3 separate regions of the Homo sapiens genome follow, and regions 2 and 3 are each linked to region 1. Evidence: promoter capture Hi-C in human tissues and cell types (Jung and others, 2019). All regions are on one chromosome and are shown on one strand. The core of a region is centred on a gene start or on the middle of the fragment in contact, and the rest is flanking DNA. Distances in the headings are between cores, read along the strand shown.

Region 1 (3,784 bases), core at 625-3,124:
TTCAAGGAAGAGTGTCCATTAGAGCAACTGGTTTTATTAATGACTATAATAATAATGTATTTAAAAATTTTACTAGCCGGGCGTGGTGGCACCCACCTGTAACCCCAGCTACTCAGGAGGCGTAGGCAGGAGAATTGCTTGAACCTGGGAGGCGGAGGTTGCAGTGAGTTGAGATCGTGCCACTGCACTCCAGCCTGGGTGACAGAGCGAAACTCCGTCTCAAAAAAAAAAAAATTATGAGCAATCCATAGGCGAGTGCAAATGGAAATCTCCAGGTTTGCAGATGCATTTTTCTGCTCCTGAAATGCCAAGGTGACAGGAATGAACTGCAGAGGGATCTTGCAAGTAAGCAGGAAAGTGACAAATGAACTGCACTATGGGTAAGTGTAAGGTAATACACTTGATAACATAATCTAGACTATATTGGCCAGGCGGACAAATCCTGAGCTCTCAGTTACAACCTGGGAAAGGAGCCAGGAGTCAGTATAGAGGCATGGGTCTGTCCCTTCGGATTAAGAATCTTTAACCTGGGGCCTGAAGACCATCTTCTGGGATTTCAAGCACCCTGCCTCCCCCGGAAATTGAATGCACCAGGGAGTGAAGTGTGGGGAGAGAGGAGCAGGAGAGAGGAGATCCTCAGAGGGGTTTGGAAACCCAGTCCTGGAGTTCCGTTCAACATGCTAACCTAACGTTGGGCCTCCCCGAGGAGGGTGTGGTTCTGAGGTTTCTCCCCCTCCCAGTTTCCCACCTTGCTGAAGAAACTTGCCCTTGACATGCAAATGATGGAAACACATTGGTGTCTGGGGCACTTTGGTTTGTGGTTTTTACCATCAGCTGTCTCTGAGGCTGAGCGTGTCGATCTGTCTCAGCAAGGCTAGCAAATTGCAAGCGCTCAGAGGAGGGGAGAGGGGGGCTATTCCTGGGGTTCTGGGCCCAGATGGGCAAATGGGTCTGTAAGGCAGACTTTTCCAGGAGGAGGGTGCAGACCCTTTGCAAGTTGTTTGGGGACAGAGCTTAGTTTGCATCTGGCCTTCTTCACCCTCCTCAGATCCCCTAGGTAGCAGGGTGCTTGGTGGTCACCACCTGACCTAGGCTACCTACTCCCAAATTGGAGTCTGAAATGAAAGCACGTGGGAAAAGTATAGCAAAGGTCAGTTTCCCATTTATTAAACAAGTTCTTCCGTGGAAAATCTTCCCAGGGCTCAGCAGCCCTTGAAGTGATCAGGGATGCTGGGGAGGTTGGGGGAGGAGAAAATGGGAGATGGCAGGTGGTATCTGTCGGTGTGGACGAGTGATAGCTTTGATTTGCTCCCCCTTCCCACCATCTCCTGTGTCCTCAGCATTTGATTTGGTTTCCTTTCCGGGGCCCTAATTCCAGGGAGGTGCCCCTCCTCCACACCTGTGTCCCAAGCCCCAGCTGTGCGTCCTCACCCTGGGTTCCTGGCACTGACCTGGAACCTGTCGGGCAGCCCTGCTCTTAGCTCCCCGCGGAGTCTCGGAGGTCTCAGGTCTCCTCCGCCCACCCTCTCCGCAGCTGGGAGGGGCAGGATGCCCCGCACCCCGCTCTGCGCGGGAGGTCGAGGCACCCCGCTCACGCCCTCCTGCCCGCAAGCTAGGGAGTCACTGCGGCCGGGGAGGGAGGTACACGGAGGGCATTTTTCCAGCCTTCACTGGGTGCTCCCCTCTCCACCCCCGGCAACCATGTAGGTTTCCGGACCCCCAGGTCCGCTTCCCTCCTCTCTGGAAAGGGGTCGGCCATAGGGAAAGGGCCCGGGGGCGCCGCAGCCGGGCCCCCGCCCCGCCCCGCCCGCAGCCCCGCTCCTCCCCGCGCGGCCCCACTTGTGGCCCTGCCGGCAGCCGCGCAGGGACAGCTGCATTTCTCGCCGCCCGCCGCTAGGAAGCCGGCCTCGCCTCACTTTCTCCGCCTCCCCGCGCCCCAGCCGCGCCGCCGCCGCCGAGCCTGGCCCCGCCGCCACCGCTGCGGATTGCAGCCCCTCCCCCGCCCGGCCCGCGGCCCGGCCCCTGCGGCCCGCGCGGAGCGGACGCGCGTGGCGCTGCCCGGTAAGACCCCCGCGCTCCCGCGGCTCCCGCCCGGCCCCGGGCGCGGTCCTCGCCGGCGCCCCGCGCGCAATCCCGGCCGCGGCCCCGGCCCAGCGGCCCCACCTTCTCGGGACCCGTTGCCCAGGCGCCGCCGGGAGGGCCGGGCCGTCGCGAGTTTGATTCCCGGGGCTGTCGGCGCGGCTCCCCGGGAGCTCCGCGTGCGGCAGGTCCCCGCCCGCCCTTCCTTCCCGAGCCCCCACCTCATCCCGGGCCCCGGGCGCGGGGGGCGTGCGGGCATCTGGGGGGCCGGGAGCGGGGCGCGCGATTAGACCGGGGGGCGCGGGCCAGCGCCGCAGGGAAGGGAGACGAGGCCTCCCGGAGCCGGCTTCGCCCGAGTCCCCTCTCCCGCCGCTCCCCCTTTTGTGTGGGCGCCCCTCCCCGCAGTGCCCGGGCCTGGGGGCGCAGGCTGGGCGGCGACGGCAGGCGGGGGCGCCTGCTGGGAGCCGAGCGCCTTTCAGGGGGAGGGGAGCTTCGCTTCCTGCCCCCCGCCGATGTCACAGGTCGGCTCAGCCTTTTTTGGTCCCTCCCGGTCCCCTGGGAGCTGTATCTCCCGTCAGCTCGGCCAGGGAAAGTTGGGAATGCGCTGTCCCCGCCCCTGCTCGCCCGCCCCGCCGGCTCCTGTGCCCCAGGCTCTGAGCTCCAAGGGGGGCTGGTGTCAGCGTTTATTCATTCCTCCCTCTTCCTTTTCTCGGTCGCGTGGTCGCCTTACACCCAGCACTGCCCTGCCCATTTCTTTTCCCCTTAAAAAAAGTTTTAGCTCTAAGAAACGTACACTGAAATTAAATTCCTGAGACGGAATGTGTTTTAAGGGGAGGGAGGGTTTAGATTTTCCTTTTTTTGGTGGAGTAGTGGAGTAGAAGATGAGGGGACTCCCTGGGAGTTTAGAAACAAGATGCCCTGGAGGCGATAGAGGATACAAGAAGACCATCCACCGTGCTCCCCACCTGATCCGCAGTCAGCGTCTTGTAGCGAGAGGAATGAGCCTTCCCTGGGTGATCCCGCAGCACCTGAGCCACCTGGCCCAGGAGAAAGGACTCAGGGAGATGTACTGGGCCTTTCACCCCTTTTCTTTATAGCCAGCTGTGCCTGAAGGAGGTGAGGGACCCCAGGAATTCTCTCACGGAGGAAGTCATCTCACCATGTGGTTGGGCCCCTGCTGGATCAAGTGTGAAGCTGGGTCCTCTCTGTTGTTGGGGGTCAGTGCCACTGGTACCTCAGTTTGAATATGGTGCCATCTCTGGGATGGAGAGGTGCTGCTGGGAGAAACCTGGCTCGGGTCTCCAGGAAGCTGGAGCGTGTGCAGCAGGGCTGGGTGTGAAACCCGCTGTCCACTTTCTGCAGCTGGAAGGGCCAGGACAAGGGAAACAGGATACTGCTACCGACCTGGGCACATCCTTGAATAGAAGAGAGACCCTGGACAGCGAGGATGGCCCAGGGATGTTGATATGACTAGGGCTGTATCCCCAGCTCCTGGGCCAGGCCAACTAGGGCCAGAGGTTGGAGTCATGGGCCCCTTTGAGAATCTGGTGAAAGCTCTAACTCCTCTCCTTCCAAAATGCATGTGTGTAGGGAGACACCTGTATTCAACACCAGACGGTTAATATACCCCCTTGGAACCAGGACCTCCATTGAGACCTCTGCCCTAGAGTTACTGGTCTGACCTGGGCCATCAGAACAGTTGTCA
Region 2 (3,784 bases), core at 445-2,944, 980 kb after region 1:
TGAGAACAGAAACTTGTTATATTTCTATACAACAAAATTTCTGTAAATCAAAAATAAAAAGGCAAACAGCAAGGAAAGAGCTACAACAAATATGAAAAAGGGCAATTTTCCTAACTCATGTAGATGATTTTTTTAAACTGAACGATATATATCTGTGTATGTGTGTTTAATATACGTATCCTATAATCCCCTAACTCCAATTTTCCTTACTTAACTTTTCTAGCATCCACAAAATATGTTTTAGAAAAGAGTAGGCTAAATACATTTTCTTTGTCACTTTTTGCTAACGTAACAATTTCCAAGTTATAGCATCTTTTTTTTTTTCCTCCAAAACCACTCTGGGAAAAAAAAAAGTAGAGGGGCTGTTGTTAAAAGATGATGGGGGGGATCCCCTCGGTGACTGGAGTTTTCTGCCTTCTATTTCCTCCCTTCTCAAATTTCAAGCCCCATTGGTCAGTAAAAGAACACTGGTCCCAACAGCTAAAGAGACAGGAGTAGAGAGGAAGACAATGAGACAACGTCTTGTAAATAAGAAAGAGCCAGGGTGGTGGCCTGTGTCTGCAGTCCGGGCTACTTGGGATGCTGAAGTAGGAAGATCACTTGAGTCAGGCAGTTCCAGACCAGCCTGGGCAACATAGTGAGACCCTGACTCAAAACAAAACAACAATGAAGATTAAGAAAACCAGAAAGTGTCCTGAGGAGCAAAACAGATGACTAAAACATTACAGACTTAGCTATAAGGTTCTATATACAAGTAACACACGATTATATTGTCCTTGACAATAACAGATAAGGCTGCGCTCCCTTGAGAATGACAGATAAGGCGCAGGTACCTTTTGACCTAACCCCAGGCACTTCTCCCTTGCCTGGCAGTGACTACTGGTAAAATTGGCAGAGCTACTTATTTTACAAAATCTCCCAGACACTCGCCTAAGGGCCAGATGATCCCCATTTTAGAAAAGGAAAACAAAACTGTTCAACAACTTGCCTAAGGTCACAAGGCAAGCTTGTGGCCAGTTCCAATTCTCAGTGCTTGCTTCAGACTAGGAGAGGTTTTGCTGAAAATCAATTTGCAAGTCATCCTATTAAACACAAATCTGTTTTTTGCCAAAAAAGATCGCTGTGGGGGAAGATGTTATCTTGTTTGTTTTGATCAAGAAAAGAAAGGGCCTTATCTCAATGAAATGTCCCATTCGTGGTAGGATGTAAGGGTACTTTTGACCGCAGATTTCAGCTTAAAATAAAACGACCTTATATCCTCATTTAGCAGCCAATCATGGCCTTTGAATCGGGGAAACCTCATTGACCAGCAGTTTCCCCAAATCATACATTTCTGCACACAGCTTCTATCTAGGCGTAGGAGAGAACGGAAGCACTCAGACCACCCAGAGCCAGAAAAGGACAAAAAAAGCACTTTGAATTTTTTAAGGAAAAAAAAAAAAAAGAGTGAGATTCAAAAGCAATATAATTACACAAGGTAAGAACCGGGGAAAAGAGACATGTTTTCAAAAGCACAAACCCAGTAACAAACTCTCACGCCTGGAGAAAAAAGAGGCATGGCAGCTGGTGCGCCTCTTGCTTGAACCTACCTGCGTTCAGGCCCAGCAGCAGCGGCAGCAGCAGCAACCACCGCGGGACGGGAGAGCGCCGCAGTGCCAGCTCCATGACAAGTACCGCACGGCAGCATCAGCAACAGGCTGGACCCGGCGCCCCATCACGTGACGGAGGCGGACGGGGCGGGTCGGGGGCGGGGCCTGCGGGTCGGGGGCGGGGCCTGAATGGGCATGGGGCGGGGCCTGGGCGGACCCGGCAGCTTGCTGAGACCCGCACGCCCTCTGCCCGGCAAGCCCACCAGGACCCCTGCAAATGCGCAGGGGCCGTTCTGTCCGCCTGGCCAGGTTCTCTGTCATTTTAGGGAGAGTATTTCGGAAAGGAGACATTTGATGCAGATGTTGGATTTAGGTTGTGTGACCGGATCGAAATACTAAAGGGAATAACCACCGCCCTTTCTACCCCTCCCATCTCTTCCTTCCCTCAGCAAAAGAACCGACGTTTTCCAACACTGCTACATCTGCGAAGTCAGATTAAGCCAGCTGGTCGTTGGCAAACAGCGGGGTTTCATTTTCAGATATGTATTTTTTAAATTATTTTTCTTTTAAAGTTATGTATGTTATAAACGTTTTGGAAATATGAACAAAAAAGTTATACATAACTATTGTTGGCATTTTTTCCCATAGTCTTTTACGTCATTTTAAAAAACACTAATAAAGATTTTTATTTTTTTTTTCTTTTTTGATAATTTGTCATTAGTATTACTCTGTGTTACGTTATCTTCACAGCAGTCATTTTAAAGAGAGAATCGAGGGTCTGGGGACGGGAAAGGAAGAAAAAGTGGATGACAGAGCTGTTTTCCTCTGTGTGTGTGTGTGTGTGTGTGTGTGTGTCTGTCTGTCTGTCTGAAGGTCATTTTTACGTTAGAGGGTACTGAATAACTCACCTCACAGCTAGGAGACAAGCTACAGCAGGGGCTGTAGGAGAGGCTACTTCTAAATACTGCTTCAAAAGTACATGTAACAAAAAGCAAAAAACAAATCAAAGTACATGTGGCCACTTCTCCTCTTTCCCTGCTCCTTTCTCCCTCCCCTCGCCCTTGACCCCCATAAATGGAAGTGCTTTTTACTCTGCAGCCATTGTCTGGACAGAGCCTTGACCCCGCCCTGCCTGTGAGGTGCCCCTGCACTGAAAGCTGCGGCAGAGAAAAATATGCCGCCGGGTTCTGTCATGCTTTAAGCATGGGATGGTCCCGAATGCATAAAATCCATAATGCCTGGGCAACATATTGAGACCCCCTCTCTACAAAAAATAACAAAAATTAACTGATGTGGTGACACGCGCCTGCTGTCCAAGCTACTCAGAAGGCTGAGGTGGGAGGATCACTTGAGCCCAGGAGCTCCAGGCTGCAGTGAGCAGGTGTTCCATGCCATATGGGAGATACATAAAAGTACATGCTTAGTTAAAAATAAATAACTATCTAGCAAACTTTTCCTGTCTGAAGCTTCCAAGTTGGTCTGTATCACTAGGGCTTGAAATACACTTACCCTTCCACTGCAGTCAGAATTTTAGGGTTTCAATTTTTTTGCCACAAAAATAACACTACAGCCCAGGGCGCAAGGTGGCTCACACCTGTAATCCCAGCACTTTGGGAGGCCGAGGTGGGCAGATTACTTGAGGTCGGGGGTTTGAGACCAGCCTGGCCAACATAGTGAAACCCCATTTCTACAAAAATACAAAAATTAGCTGGGTGTGGTGGCACTTGCTTGTGGTCTTAACTACTCGGGAGGCTAAGGCATGAGAATCGCTTGAACCCAGGAGGTGGAGGTTGCAGTGAGCCAAGATGGTGCCACTGCACTCCAGCCTGGGTGACAGAGTAAGACCCCATCTCACACACGCACAAAAAAATTGTGCATTTTATAATACGCTAATATGACTTCAAAAGGAAAAAATATAAATAAAATGTCACCTCTAGTTAATGATATTCATATTAAAGTGTTTAGGGGAAGGTGTACCAATGTATACAATTTTCTTTGAAATGTATCCAGATGCTGGCACAGTGACCTATGCCTGTAATCCAGCTCTTTGGGAGACCAAGGTGGGATGATTGATTGAGCCTAGAAGTTTGAGACCAGCCTGGACAATATAGTGAGACCATGTCTCTTAAAAAAAAAAAAAGTATCCAGAATATAAGATGGATTGATGGATAGGATGGAAAGAAGGTTGGATACAT
Region 3 (3,784 bases), core at 948-3,447, 870 kb after region 1:
AGAATCACTCCTGCTCCTTTTTCTTGGGAGTGGCAGAAAGGAGGGGCAAGAAGGAGTGTACAGAAGACTGAACTGTCCTTCAGATCTGTCATCGACCCAACCTCACAAAGGCACATCCAGGCCCAGGCCAGAGAAGGGATGGGGGCTGGGGCTGTGCTTGAAAAGATCTTACTGCCTCCTCTAATCAGGAGGCCAGCTACTGCTGGGTGACAGCCTTTGGAGGGCCAGGAGATGGTCTGTGACCTCCAAGTGAGGTCTGACAGGTGTCGGGAAATTAGTGACTTCAGGATTGTCTTTTTCAATCAGCTCAGTCTTCAGAGCAGTTTCCCTGAGCCCTCAGGCACAGCTTTTTTTATTCATAGTCATTACTTGTGCATTTCAAAAGCACCCGATGGTTGCATAATTCTGATGATAAAATATGGCTTTGGAAAGACAAGAGAGTTAAGAGTAGGATCCTGTACTTCAGTTTCCCATAAAATGAAGATGTTCTGTAATAGGGAATATCTCCCTCACAGAGTTGTAACGAGGCTGAACACACTTAAGTCAGACTCCATATGTGGGATCAATGATTTTAATCTTTGTAAAACCCAGTTTAGTTTCCTGAATGAGGATGTGGTGATAAAGGGGCAGTAAATAAGCAACAACCAATGAGCATGGGGGGCGGCAGGGGCAGAGGAGGAGGTGGGGAGCACGCCCCAGCCCAGGTCCAAGCCAGTCCAGCCCTTGCTGTGTCCAGGGACCAGTTTACTCTACTCGGATCTTGTTTCTTCACCCACAAACTAATCACTGTACTAACCTCATAGGGCTGACAGAGAATAAAAATGACACAGAAAAAAAAAAGCCACTAATATGCCAGTAGGTGCTCATCAGTAAGTGTCCTTTATGCTGCCTGGCTCCAAGAAAAGAGATCTCACATTATATATACCAAAGGTCAATCTAGCAGGGTTCAAACAAAGCACACCCAGGACTAGAAGAGGGGGCATCTGGAAACAAAGAACTCCCCACCCCTGCCACAACAGAACACGTTAGCATCCACGCTGTGGCCCCACTCTCCCCCAACACCTTCTGTGAAGAATGGCCCCTAACATTTAGGTGGACTGGAAACAGCAGAATGAAAACACAACCTCGTTTAAGAGAAGGGCCGCACTGAGATCTGTAGGAAGTCATCAGGTGGGTGAAGGACCAAGTAACAATATGTTGACATCTGACATTTGGAGACCAAGGACAAACCAGCAGGGATCTTTATGATAATAAACGGCTTCAAACCAAAAGGGCTTTCTAAGGGCTTAGCATCTGGACCTTTGCTTCACGCTCCTGTCCCCAGGTCCTTTCTGAAGGTCCTCACTCAAACTGTTTCAAAACTGTTCGTCCACTCCCAACTGGCAGACTAGAACTCACTTGTAGTATGCCATGGAGACAACCAGTAGATAATTTGTCACCAAAGCTGTTGGGTTTATGGACTCTGGAAGACTAAGCTCAAACATGTTATGCTTTAGAGATTTACAAGTTGAGACAATTAAGCTTTTAGAGTTGGAGAAAAAAAAACTTTCTAGGCCGGCGCTGTCCAACAAAACTTTCTTCGATTATGGAAAATGTTCTTGACCTGTACTGACCAGGACGGCAGCCACTAGCTACACGAGGCCACTGAGAACCTGAAATGTGGCTAATGTCACTAAGAAATTTTTTTAAAAATACTTTGAAAAGTTTAATTAGTCACACAGCTAGCAGCTACCCTACAGACAAGGCAGCTCTAAACTCCCCACACCCAGGACAAATTTAGGCAAATAAAGCTATCTTTAAAAATAAAAAATATTTAGAACAGTAGCACACCTTAGAGCTAAGAACTTGAGATGAACAGTGAGTTGTTTTTTTTCCCCTTAAGTCTTTGACATGTACTACCCATTGAGCTGTGCTCCCCAGCCCAAACACATCACTCCAGTGGCCCCTGGGCACGTTTGGTCTAACTCCAAGGCTCCCAGGACCATAATCTGAATACTGATAATTTTGACCAAACCTCTTTTAGCCACTGAATAAACCAAGATCTGGAAGGCCAACCAGCCTGCCTAGAATCACCGCCAGGTTTCAGCTCTGAGAGCTGCAGCAAGTCCCAGGCTCTTGTCAGCTAAGCCCAGCAGTGAAACAAGCCTCATCAGCCCTAGGTTATACATATTTTTACTTCCAGGACTCACCTCAGGGCCCTTCTTTGCTCCCAAGTGCAACTGGGCCTTAGTGACACCTGGCTCGGTGAACACAACCAGCCACCATTACAGAACAGGGAACACAATGTTTACCACTGACTGCTGCAAACTATCAAACCAAGCCGGAAAAACAACCAGATGGTGAAGACCCGGACAGAATGTGGACAAGGCTGCACCATTTAGTAAAATGAAAAAGTTAAGGCAAAGGACACCTTGAAAGCTATTTATTGCTGGAAAGCTAGTTCTCAGAATGCTGAATGATAACACACACAATGTTAACAATCTACTTAGAAAGCAGCAGAAAGATTAGGAGAAAAGCCCAGGGATTTAAGAATATTCCTTGGTTCTTCTCACAAAAGCCATCCAGAGGACCTAGTTTTAACTCCACACCCACGCTTCCTAGTTCCTCTACCCCTCAATTTGAATTTGTGTGACAGCCACTGAAACAATCCAGAATGACCTCCAGCTTCACCCTCACTGTTCTCAGAGGTGTGAGGATTAAAGGATTAGTGTGCTCATAACTCACCTAGCACAGTAACTATCAAGAAAGAGGCATCCTCTCAAGTTTAGCTCCCAGCTCCCCCACTACCTGTTTCTCCAGCCAGACTCTGTCCTACTTCAAACATGCTCACTGATGATGTTTTCCACAGCCCAAGCTTCAAATTAGGTACCAAGGCCAGGAGGTTCCTTCAGTGGGATGCCACATGTGATGGGAACTTAATGTTAAATGATCATAAAAGTGAAAACTGCCTGAGGTATTACACCAGGAAGGAACATGGAAGAAACAGAACTTGCCCTAAGAAGCAAGATTTAGGACTAAAATACACCCCCCACCATAAAGATGAGCAACTCTCAAACAGTATATGAGATGATTTCAATGGGACAAGATGCCCACAGGATCTACTACCTCCCCATAGTGGAAGAAAACGCCTGAGAATGACAAGCTGAAGGTATTAACTCATACCTGAAACAACTGACTTCCCCACAATAGGAAAACAGACCAAGCTACAGAAAGGCCCAATCATTCAGACTCACAGGGAAGATTAGGAAGGAGTGACCTAGGGGAACTCTACGGCCAGCTCTCTGGGTACATTGGCTACAAGCTGCCTGCTCTTCAAAGCCCTGAAATGCACACACAATCAAGTCATGTTGCAGGCTGGGAGCAGGAGGCTAGCCAGCAAAGCTTAGGGAAACCAATTCGTTTTTCCTCCCAAACAAGCTTCTGGGTCAGAGGCTAAGGAGAGGGGTGCTTTTAATAGAATTCAAGTCACTCAAGTAATTCAAGAGAAACAAAGTCAGTCTCAGGGATTGTTCAGGGAGGAGAGGGGAAGAGCAATGCTTAAGCACCTATCACAGTCCCCAGTATCACAAATATGATCTCCATTTGTCTTTAGGACAGGAAAAGGGAATACTGTAGAGGCTAACACCAGCCTTCCCCTAAAATATGGCTGCAACCCAGCCTATGTCCAAAGCTCAAGAATAATTTGGGTTACCAGGCAGCAAGATAAATTGCTTTTAAATATTGATGTTCAGCAACCTTACACTGGAGACATATCGACTTCAGCACCTGAGCAGGCCACTTACAA

Evidence for each region. Contacts are between HindIII fragments. The study calls those that stand out against the background at their distance.
Region 2: a contact is called between the fragment with the promoter of SCPEP1 here and the fragment with the promoter of CUEDC1 in region 1, in 1 of the 25 tissues and cell types used here (aorta).
Region 3: a fragment that was not itself captured here is called in contact with the fragment with the promoter of CUEDC1 in region 1 in 3 of the 25 tissues and cell types used here (aorta, dorsolateral prefrontal cortex and hippocampus).

What each region holds. Positions count from the first base shown.
Region 1 is chr17:57,953,502-57,957,285 of GRCh38, reverse strand. CUEDC1 (CUE domain containing 1) reads left to right here and starts at 1,874. Exons shown (of 11, transcript NM_001271875.2): 1 at 1,874-2,061. RefSeq lists a silencer at 1,950-2,019. The HindIII fragment of the contact is 13,236 bases long and covers 1-3,784 here.
Region 2 is chr17:56,976,041-56,979,824 of GRCh38, reverse strand. SCPEP1 (serine carboxypeptidase 1) reads right to left here and starts at 1,694. Exons shown (of 13, transcript NM_021626.3): 1 at 1,590-1,694. The coding sequence starts at 1,665. RefSeq lists a silencer at 1,752-1,811. The HindIII fragment of the contact is 4,443 bases long and covers 1-3,474 here.
Region 3 is chr17:57,087,372-57,091,155 of GRCh38, reverse strand. The region is part of intron 1 of AKAP1 (A-kinase anchoring protein 1); the gene reads right to left. Among named protein-coding and RNA genes, the nearest start is that of AKAP1, 4.0 kb to the right of the region's middle. The HindIII fragment of the contact is 3,932 bases long and covers 232-3,784 here.